2 separate regions of the Homo sapiens genome follow, and region 2 is linked to region 1. The links are contacts of gene promoters, found by promoter capture Hi-C in blood cells and fetal thymus (Javierre and others, 2016). All regions are on one chromosome and are shown on one strand. Each heading gives the region's core, a stretch centred on a gene start or on the middle of the fragment in contact. The rest is flanking DNA. Distances are from core to core; before and after follow the strand shown. Region 1 holds the start of LINC00479 (long intergenic non-protein coding RNA 479). Region 2 has its middle 3.6 kb from the start of LINC00111.

The links. Contacts are between HindIII fragments. The CHiCAGO score rates a contact against its expected background, and 5 or more counts as called.
Region 2: a fragment that was not itself captured here is called in contact with the fragment with the promoter of LINC00479 in region 1 in 1 of 17 cell types (M2 macrophages); the score reaches 5.2 in M2 macrophages.

Annotation. Positions count from the first base shown.
Region 1 is chr21:41,713,229-41,718,416 of GRCh38, forward strand. It overlaps LINC00479 (long intergenic non-protein coding RNA 479), which reads right to left and starts at 2,547. Exons shown (of 6, transcript NR_027272.1): 1 at 2,514-2,547; 2 at 1,892-2,055; 3 at 1,006-1,124; 4 at 792-904; 5 at 323-444. LINC00112 (long intergenic non-protein coding RNA 112) reads left to right here and starts at 3,208. Exons shown (of 3, transcript NR_024028.2): 1 at 3,208-3,316; 2 at 3,773-3,946; 3 at 4,114-4,354. The HindIII fragment of the contact is 7,368 bases long and covers 1-4,359 here.
Region 2 is chr21:41,672,967-41,678,350 of GRCh38, forward strand. No RefSeq gene overlaps it. Among named protein-coding and RNA genes, the nearest start is that of LINC00111, 3.6 kb to the right of the region's middle. The HindIII fragment of the contact is 3,754 bases long and covers 1,871-5,384 here.

The DNA of each region.
Region 1 (5,188 bases), core at 1,297-3,796:
TCGCCATCATGCCCAGCTAATTTTTGTGTTTTTGGTAGAGATGGTGTTTTGCCATGTTGGCCAGGCTGGTCTTGAACTCCTGACCTCAGGAGATCTGCCTGCTTTGGGCACCCAAAGTGCTAGGATTATAGGCGTGAGCCACAGCACCTGGCTTGTCTTTAATTTTTTGTTTATACTTTTCTATACCTTCTAATTGTTTTCAACCAACACGTATATCCCAGAAAATGTTTTAATGATTAAAATAAAACAATTGCCCTCTCCTCCTTGGAGCCCCATCCACAAGAGCAGCTTCTGCAGATGTGGGAAGGAGAAGACTTTGTACCTGGGTCCCAGGCCACGTGAATAATTAACCCTGTCTAGGGAGCCTTGGAGGTCTGATGAGGCCAGGGCTTGAAGGAGAGCCGCGGAGCACGCCAGGATCCAGGCTTGTGGGTAGCAGCATCCCTGGAAATGGTCCCCAGTGGGGGAGGAACCAGTAGCCATCACCTCCAACCCCCAGCCACCGCCCCGCGCCATGTGAGTGAGGTGGCATCTGGTTTTCCACACACACCTCCCCATGTCGCTGGACGCAGGCAAGGCCACCCAACCCCCAAGCCAGAGTCACCCGGACAGACGGATACTAGGCACCTTAGCACTTCCATGGCCAGAGGCCTCCTGAGGTGGGAACCGGGTCCTAGCCCATCCCAGGCCATCCCCTCCAGGACCTTCCTGGAGGAGCGGGGAGACCAGACTTAGAGGAAGGCTCCATGTCCCAGGTCCAGACAGGGGTGAGGGGGAAGAGGGGTGAGCACCTGTGTTAGGCACTTTGAACTCTCCAGGTCAGGTGACTGCATCCAGCTGAGACTCCTGGCCTCCCTCCAGCGTGGAATGAGCAGCCGGTCCTGTCCCGTCCACCCCTCCAGTGCTGCGGAACAGAACGGGAATGGCAAGTCCCCATGTGCTGTCTCCCCGCCCTTCTACAGCACCGGTGGCACAAATGCTGGGGACAGTGCCGGCCCCACTCACAGGAGAGCTGCTGGGCTGGCTCCAAGGCTCCTCCGTCCATGGCTGCTGGGCTGGCTCGGAGGCTGCCTCCGTCCATGGTCTCTGCAGTGGACAGTCTGTGTCACGCCTCCATCTGTGGTCTTTGCAGTGGACAGTCTGTGTGACGCCTCCTCCGTCCATGGTTTTTGCAGTGGACAGTCTGTGTCATGCCTCCATCCATGTCTTCCAGCAACACCACCTCACTCTGCTTTACACAATCACTCCACCTCCGTGTAATGCCCAACCTTGTTTTTCCTTTATTCACCTAGCCTTGCTTCTCCCTTAGCTGAGAGAGTCACACAAACTCCATCTTGGCTCTTTCACCGGCAGCCCCTTCCTCAAGGACTTAACTTGTGCAAGCTGACTCCCAGCACATCCAAGAATGCAGTTAACTGATAAGATACTGTGGCGAGCTAGATCCGCAGTTCCCAGGAATTTGTCCGAATGATAACGCCCGAAGCCCCGCGTCTATCACCTTGTAATAGTCTTAAAGCCCCTGCACCTGGAACTGTTTACTTTCCTGTAACCATTTGTCCTTTTAACTTTTTGACTACTTAACTTCTGTAAAATTGTTCTAACTAGACCCCCCTCCCCTTCCTAAACCAAGATGTAAAAGTTAATCAAGCCCCTTCCTCGGGGCCAAGAGAATTTTGAGCGTTAGCTGTCTCTTGGTTGCCAGCTAATAGAGGACTCCTAATTCATCTCAAAGTGTGGCGTTTTTCTAACTCGCTCAGGTACAACATCCCCACATGCCCTGCCCCCGCTTTGTATGCACACAGCACACACCTGTGCACATACAAACATCTGCTTTCACACATGGACACACTCACTGAGGTGAAGAGGCACACTCAGGCACACACACACTCACATTTGGTACATGCAGCTCCTGAGGGGCAAGGCTGAGCTCCTTCTCAGGAACGGACACAAGACTGAGGGCTGGGTCACTCAGATACTTTGCCCCTCGGGCCCCACGGATTGATTTAGGGGTGAACTGTGAATCCCTGGGAGATTCCTTCCTGCCACGCATTCCTGCTGATGGGAAACAAAGCGGTCTTTGAGGGATGCTGGAGGAGGCAGCAGTTTGTGATAAAGAGCTGTGAGAGGAGAAGCCCCTTTGCCACCTGCCCTCCTTTGTGCATTGGATGTTGTCCTCAATGGACGTGATGCCTGGAGTCCCTGCAGCCATCTTGCCTCCATGGGGCAAGCCAGGAAAACCTCACCGACTTAATGGCTTCCCTCCAGCCTTTCCAAAGCCTTGCTCTGGTCTCAGAGAGTTAGGAATTCTGTCACTTAAGGCCCAGAGCATCCTGCTGCTCCCTTCACTCCAGAACCAGAGCCACACGGCTAACAGGCAAAGGGTCAGGAACATAGCCCGTGTTTTCTGCTCTCGGCACTTGGTCATTCTGCATAGAATTTGGCTCCAAGGCCTGGCCTGACACCTTCGCACCAAGGTGCCGTAAATGAAACCTTTACTCCTGAGACTTCCTCACCTCTGCGTTCCCAGGGATCCACAATCTTCTATTTGTAAAATGATTCCCGGTTGTCATGGAGACCAGGGCACCGCAGTGGAGCTGGAATGTTAGGTGGGGTCCAAGGTTCAGTCCTGGGGGTAGGGAGTGGGGCAGGCAGCTTCACTGGGCCCTTTATCTGCCTGATTCTCATCTTTCTTACACAATAGTCTACTCATTATTCCTTCCCTAAGGGCCAGGACACAGGCCTGCCTGGGGTTACAGTCCCTGTCTTTACAAGTCCTCTCCTTCTGGCTCTTGGGCGTGCCTGAGCTCAAAGGAGCCTCCAAGCAAACTTGGCAGGGGGTGTCCCCCAGGGCAGAGGTGGGGCCCTGGCTCAGCACCCCCAGAAACCACAAGGTGGGGGCGGAGGATCCTGCACCTGACCTTCACCTTCGTGTGGATCAGATCAGAGCAGAAGTTCTATTTCTGGAACTGTCAGACCTGCTGACCTCCAGTCAATGGCAGAGGCAGGAAGGCAGGCAGAAATACAAGATGCAGCTCTTGTTACACCTCCTGCACAGACCAACCTAGTCTCGGCTCCACACAGCCACTCACTCTTTCACTCAACACGTGTTTCCGAGCATCTTCTATGTGCCTTTTCTCTATCATCAGATGGGGGCCCCTGCGGTGGGCAGAATAACGGCCACTGCAAAGATGCCAAATCTTATCCCCAGAGCTTCCGCAGAGATCCTGCAGATGTGATTCGAGTCTTCCAGCAACACCACCTCACTCTGCTTTGCACAATCACTCCACCTCCCCACATGTTGCGGAGATTCTCCTGGGTCAGTCGGGGGGTCCAGTGTCATCCTAGGGTCCTTATGAGAGGGAGGAAGGGAGGCGGAGGAGGAGATGCAAGGATGAAGCGAAGGTTGGAGTGATGTGGTCTGCTGCGGGGACCCTGAGGCGTGCAGGCGGCCTCTGGAAGCTGAAAAGACAGGAAGGCAGCTTCTCCCCTGAGCCTCCAGAAGAACCCGGCCCTGCTGACACTGGCCCAGGAGCCCCTTCCCCCATCAGGGCCTGGAGAGGGAAGAAATGACTGTTCACAGATTTTACCCCGCAAGACCCATTTCAGCATTCTGATTTTGAGAACCATAAGACAGTGTGTGTTGTTTAAGCCTCCAAGTCTGTGGATATTCATTACAGCAGCCTTGGGAAACTGACACCACCTCCCCCTAATCCTCCCTCCCGCCCCCACCTACACCTGAACCCTCCCCTTGCTCTTCTCTGCCGATTCACAGGGATTCACACTCTTCCTACTTGCAGCTGTGACACGGGAAACATCCTCCACCAGGTCTTCTCTCACAGTGTGGCCTCTGCGCACAGGTTATCCACCTGTAGACCTGGACGGGACCCTCGAGGCTCCCTACTCTGACCATCTGGTTTTATAGTTGAGGAACCAGAAGCCGAGGCAGGTAACTTGGTGCAGCCTAAAGGCCTCCATCCCTCCAGTGCCCACAACTTAGGTGCCCACGACAACAACACTGGCCTACCGCAAAGACCCAGCCCAGAGGAACAAGGTGCCACTGTATGTCTGAAAAGGGGGCCCTCGGCCTCACTGGGGAGCACCTTCCTCCATCAGGGTCTCGACGGTGAAGAAGCAGGCTGTTTCCATCTTCAGGATACAAGCCATCTGCGCATAGGAAGAGGGTCCAGAGGCTCATCTGGAATCCCTCCTCACTCACTGGACGGAGGACCTGACCCCGTTCCCATCATTGGTTCTGAATCCATCAGCCCAGCAAGACAGGTGTCTCCAGCAAGTTCTGTAAAATACAACCATAGCCGGGCCTGGAGTCAGCCCCCAATAAAGGGTTCACCATGGAGTCAAAGCTTCCTTCACATTGGGAAGAGCCTGATGATGCCGCCTTGGTGCCACCCGTGCAGGCCGTGTTCCACTTCTGTCATGGGCTGGAGAGAAAAGAGCGACATGGACCTGTTCATGAAAGGCTCTTCCCGCAACACCAAGCCTGGGGCCTGCAGGGCCGCCATGAAGAAAGGTGGCTCCTGCTTGGCAGAGAGAAAAGGGGAGGGAGGGCAGGTGAGTCACCAGCATTGGGCCCCTCAGCCCAGGCTGCCAAGGCAGCCCAGTGGAACCTGTCCCCATACAGCATGTTTTTAGTTTGAATGGTTTTACAGTGTTGGAGCTGTAACTTTACAAATTTGCTTTGCCTTCATAACTCTGTAAGAGCTATAAGCAAACGTAGCTTTAATCAGCATTTACAGCGTGCAGGAGCATCTTTCCTTTAATTCTGCAGGAGGATTTGTGCCCTGTGGATGCCATAACAAAGTATCACAAACCCACAAGTCAGGAAGGAAGGTGTGGGCAGGGTGGGTTCCTCCTGGAGGCTCTGGGGACACGTCTGTTCTGTGCCCGCCTCCAGCTTCTGACGGTCGTGCCAATGCTTGGCCTCCCGTGACTATGGAAGCCTCTCTGTAGTCTCCACTTCCATCCTCCCAGCGCTCTCCTCCCCTGTGTCTGTCCCTCCTGCCTTCTGTCTGGCTAATCTCATGAGGACACCATTCATTGGGTTTAGGGCTCACTCTGAATCCAAGATGAGCTCATCTCGAGATTCTTCTTCTTTTTTTTTCTTTTTTTTGAGAAGGAGTCTGGCTCTGTCACCCAGGCTGGAGTATAGTAACACAATCTCAGCTCACTG
Region 2 (5,384 bases), core at 2,498-4,997, 39 kb before region 1:
GGGATGCGGCTAATTTGTGTGTGTCTTCCCAGCGGCCTGCAGGCACCCCACCCGTTACCCCCACCGCCCCCCACCCCCTGCTGTCCTCCCCAGGGCCGGGGCCACCACAGGAAGCCAGCCCATGCGGAAGCCATGGAGAGCAGGAGCGGTGGGGCACCGGGCAGCGAACAGACGGGATCAAGAGGCTGAGCGTGTGACCCCAGGGAAGACAGTTCACATCAGCTGTGCCTCAGTCTCCCAGGCACCGAAGTGATGGTCAGGCCTGACTGCGGCTGGTGATGCCACCCCCGTGCTGAGGGGCAGAGCCCCTGGGGCAGGCCCACTGCAGGTCCACAGCGAGACGGGGAGATGCGCCCGGCCAGCCTGTGGGGACAGAAGCAAGAGCGGGAGGACAGCAGGGCCGGCGGTTCATGGCCATAGACGGGACAAAACAGCCTCAAACAAAATGGGTGTGGCTGACAGAGATACTGGACACAGGAGTCCTCGAGTCCAGAGCCTACACCTGCCAAATGCCCAGCTCACTGGGCACCACAGACATGATGAGGACACCACTTCTCATGCTAAAAATCAGCAATGGAAGGAAGTCATGAAACCGTCTTCTGTTCTTCCATAGACAGTCTCTTGCAGGGTTAAAACATAGCCCAAGTTGCTGTAGGTCAGTTCTTCCTACAGGGAATTCAAGCTGATCAATATGGAAGAAATTACAGAATTAGAAAACCCCATTTTGCAAAATAATTGAGATGCAATGAGCCTCAGCAGGTGGCATCGTTGGGTGACAGTTGGTGAGAAGGGCAGCTCTCCCTGCTGCCCTGGCACCTGCACTGCAGGTCTGCCTCTGCCATGGTCTCGCCTGATAAAGTGAACAGGAGGCACAAGTCCCCACTGGAACACTGGCTACCTCTGAAAGAAGGCCAGCAATCAGCCGTTCCTCCTTTTCCTATCACTAAAGCTTCTCTTCCAAGGACAACACGAGGAGCTCCCTGGAAAAACCAAAGGCACCCAGACACAGTGGCTGGGAGCAGGGGAGCCCCTTTAGTCTTGGTGGGTTTGGCGGGAGGAGCATTTGACGCTGCCACTTCTTCTGCCCAGTGGGTGAACCAGCGGCTGTGCTGTGGCCTGAGTCCAGGCCAGAAAGATGTAGAAAGCTATGAGGGCACTAGTTGGCAAGGTCAGTGGGAAGCAGCTGGAAATGACAAGTTGGGCGCTGGGAGATTTGTTCAGAATGTGGAGACTGAGCTGTGCCAACAGAGTGCGTGTAGAGAGGTGCCTGACCACGCTGCCGCAACGGGGTCCTTCTGTATTTCATGGTGTGGCTCTAATTCTCTCAGCATTTAGCAATGCATTTTTATATTCGTAATAAGACCTTTGGGCCACGGTGAGCTAAAAAATAAAATGAAAGTGCATGTGAAATAAGAAGTTAACTTATTGGATTTCTGTTCCTCCAGAAAGTTGATTATGATGTCTACTTACACAAAATGTTTGTGAACATTTACCATTTGCGGTAAATGCAGTGACATCACCAAGCACATGAAAAGCAGAAGAAACAGCAGCATCAACCTCAAAAGCTGGTAACTCTTTTCAGGCAGCCAAAGACAGTGACTGACGCCTGCAGCCGTGTCACTCGGGGACTTTTCTTGTAGATCAAATGTCAGTGCTCATTAATTTCCTTCTTTGTCAACTTTGAGTTTTCTTATGAATTTACTCGATGACGTGATAGCTGTTATTGTGTTACCTCCATGAGCCCAATTTCACAAGACAGTTAAGTGATATGGATGTAATATGTGTATTATCAGATGCTTCCAACAGAAAAGCTCATTCAGTTAATTTGAATAATGACTTAATTTTTATTCAAATCATTAAATAAATGTAAAGCTTTTATTAAAAACAATTATTATTGTTTTAATTATTAGCAATTATTAAAAGCAAGTTTGCAAACAGAAAGACTATTTAAATTTCTTACCACAAAAGAAAGAGAGAAACTGAATAAAACGCATAATGTCTACCCAAATAGTGTATGAGAATAACTTTGGAATTCTAAAATTGCTTCTTGGAGCATCTCAATTTATGAAACAGATTTTTGCTAGAGCTCATATTTTAATAGTATGTATGTTTATTATATATGAGAATGGAATGAAATTGAAAAGGCCTGTGATTTTTAGCACATAAATTTGATAAAACATTCAAAGGAATTATACATGAAAAAAGCCTATTTGACTCATTTTGCCCTATAAAGACATTTATGAAAGACTTTGGATTGAACTCAGAACACAGGACCTGTGACAATATCTGGGTGAAATATTGACCTTTTCATTAGAAAATACTGAGACTGTCTTCCCCTGAGCAGAGTCAGCTCAGATCTTACCTCTACAGCTGCTCATTCATCTGACAACCTCAGGGTCTACAGAGAAGATTCCACTTAGCTGGTCGGCAAACTCAAATTCATTAGCCACAAAAATGTCTTCTTGGAGAGGATTCCAGGCAATTTTATGAAAGATTAAAATAAGGCAATTCTGAAAATAGCACATTCTTCTGAAAAATGCCACTAATGGCAATAGAAACAAATAAGGCTTAAAAACTGATTGAAGAATGTGAATAGGTATCAAGAAAAATTATTCAGGCCGGGCACGATGGCTCACGCCTGTAATTCCAGGACTTTAGGAGGCCAAGGTGGGAGATCTCTTGAACCCAGGAGTTTGAGACCAGCCTGGGCCACATAGGGAGACACTATCTCTATAAAAATAAAAATGAAAAAATTAGCTGGGCATAGTGGTGCATGCCTGTGGTCCCAGCTACTCGGGAGGCTGAGATGACAGAATTGCTTGAGCCTGAGAAGTCAAGGCTGCAGGGAGCTGAGATCACGCCCCTGCACTCTAGCCTGGGCGACAGAGCTGGACTATGTCTCAAAAAAAAAAAATAATAATAATTATGCTTGTAATTGCTTTTTAATATCCAGATAATCAATACAACAAAGAAGGCATTTGTTTTTTGCTTTAATGTAAACATATGTTATTTTTTACTTTTTGAAAGAGCATTTAATTTTTTCTCTCCAATTACAATTTTCACTTTACTAGAAACAAAAATTACACACCCCTAGAGTATTTTCCCCTTGTCCTTATATACCAAGATATTTCAGTGGAAATTTATTTTTCTTCAGCTTCATTGAGTTATAATTTATATCCAACAAAATCCACCTATTTTAATTTAGCAATTGGTAGCTGTAGTGTAACCATCACCACAATCAAGAAATAGAACATTTTCATCACTCTAAAAAGTTTTCTTTTGACCCTCCCCTGAGCCCTGACCCCAATTACTAATAATCTCGAAAGCATCGAAAGCATCTTTTAAACAACGTAATTGAGGTATAATTGCCATATAATAAACTATACATGTTTAAAGTGTGCAACTCACATGTGTTGACACATGTGCAAGTCTTGAACATGTGCTCAAGATGTTCAGCATCAACAACAAGATAGTCAGCATATGCCTCCTTCCATTGTGTGGTTATACTGCAGTTCCTTTATCCATCTCACCCATTGATGGACATTTGGGTTTTTTCTATTTGTAGCTATTACAAATAAAGCTGCTATGACTTTTGCTTATTTATGCAAAAGTCTTCACTTGGGCACAGACTTTTCTCTTGGATAAATACCTCGGAGCAGAACAATGGGGTCATGTGGTAGCTGTGTGTTTAATTGTCAAGAAACCGTCAGTTTTCTTTTTTCTTTCTTTTTTTTCTTTTTTTTTTGAGACAGAGTCTGGCACTCTCGCCTGGGCTGGAGTGCAGTGGCGCCATCTCGGCTCACTGCAGGCTCCGCCTCCCGGGTTCACGCCATTCTCCTGCCTCAGCCTCCCGAGTAGCTGGGACTGTTTTCTAAAGCGGTTGTACCATTTTACATTCCTAACCACAGGGTGTGAGAGTTCTGGTCTCTACACATCCTCGCCAACACTTGGTGTGGGAGCTCTTCTTGCAGTTATTCTAAGCTGCTTGTAGTAATAGCCACTGTAGTCTTAATTTGTGTTTCCTTAATGACTGATGCTGCTGAATCTCTTTTCATGTGCTATTTACCATTTCTATATGGTGGGTGAAGTATCTATTCTTTTCTCTTTTTTTTATTTTTATTTTTTGAGACGGAGTCTCACTCTGTCACCCAGGCTGGAGTGCAATGGCGCGATCTTGTCTCACTGCAACCTCTGCCTCCTGGGTTCAAGTGATTCTCCTGCCTCAGTCTCCTGAGTAGCTGGGATTACAGGCACCTGCCACCATGCCCGGCTAATTTTTGTATTTTTAGTAGAGATAGGGGTTCATCATGTTAGTCATGCTGGTCTCAAACTCCTGACCTCAGGTGATCCACCCACCTCAGCCCCTCAAAGTGCTGGGATTACAGGTGTGAGCCACTGTGCCTGGCCTATTCTCTTCTTTTTTTAAAAAATTAGGTTCTTTGTTTTCTTACTGTTGAGTTTCAAGCAATCTTTATCTATATGGCTACAAGTCATTTATCAGATGGGTGATTTGCAAGTATTTTCTCCTGTGGTTTGTCTTTTCATTCATTTATCAATGTCTTTCAAAAGCAGAAGAACCTCTTCACTTTGACAAAGTCCAATTTATGGTTTTAGTTTTTGTTTTTAAACATCGAATACTTTTGATGTTGTCTCTAAGAAATCTTTGCTGGCCGGGTACCATGGCTCACGTCTAGAATCCCAACACTTTGGGAGGCCGAGGCAGGAGGATGGCTTGAGCCCAAGAATACCAGCCTGGGCAAAAGGGCGAAACCCCATCTCTACAAAAAATACAAAAGAAATTAGCTCGGTGTGGTGGCAAGACCATGAGGGAGGGGCCGTAGGGAGACGCAGGGGCATAATGGCAAGTGGTTAATTCTAGCAGCCTAAGAGGTAAAGTAAACAGGAAACCGTTGAGGTGGTGTTCAGGGCCACAGGAGAGACTGGAACACTGGCCAAATGCTTGGCTCTGTTAGAGTGAGCAGAATAAAAGCAGGCCGGAAAAAGCAAGTCAGAACTTTGGCGATTTCTGTCACTATCAGGAGGCACTGGACTGCAAGTCACAGAATAAACTCATCCACCGTGACTTAAACACGTAGGGACTGTCCTTCTCCCATCACAAGAAGACTAGAGCCATGTCTCTGCTGGGGGCTTCTGAGGTTCACGTTGTCAGAGCCAGGATGTCAGCAGTTCTTGGATCTTTTGTCAAGGCCATCTCTGAGTCACCTCTGTCTGCAGGGGACTGTGGGATGGTGAGTGTTTAGCTCTCCATCCTCTGGATGGAAGCAGGCAGGGGAGAAGAAGGTTGGGGAGGGTGCTGGGTTAGCCACCCATGTCCACCCTGAGCATGCTGGGGGCCAGGCACGCAGCTTCTGCAAGACAAGCGT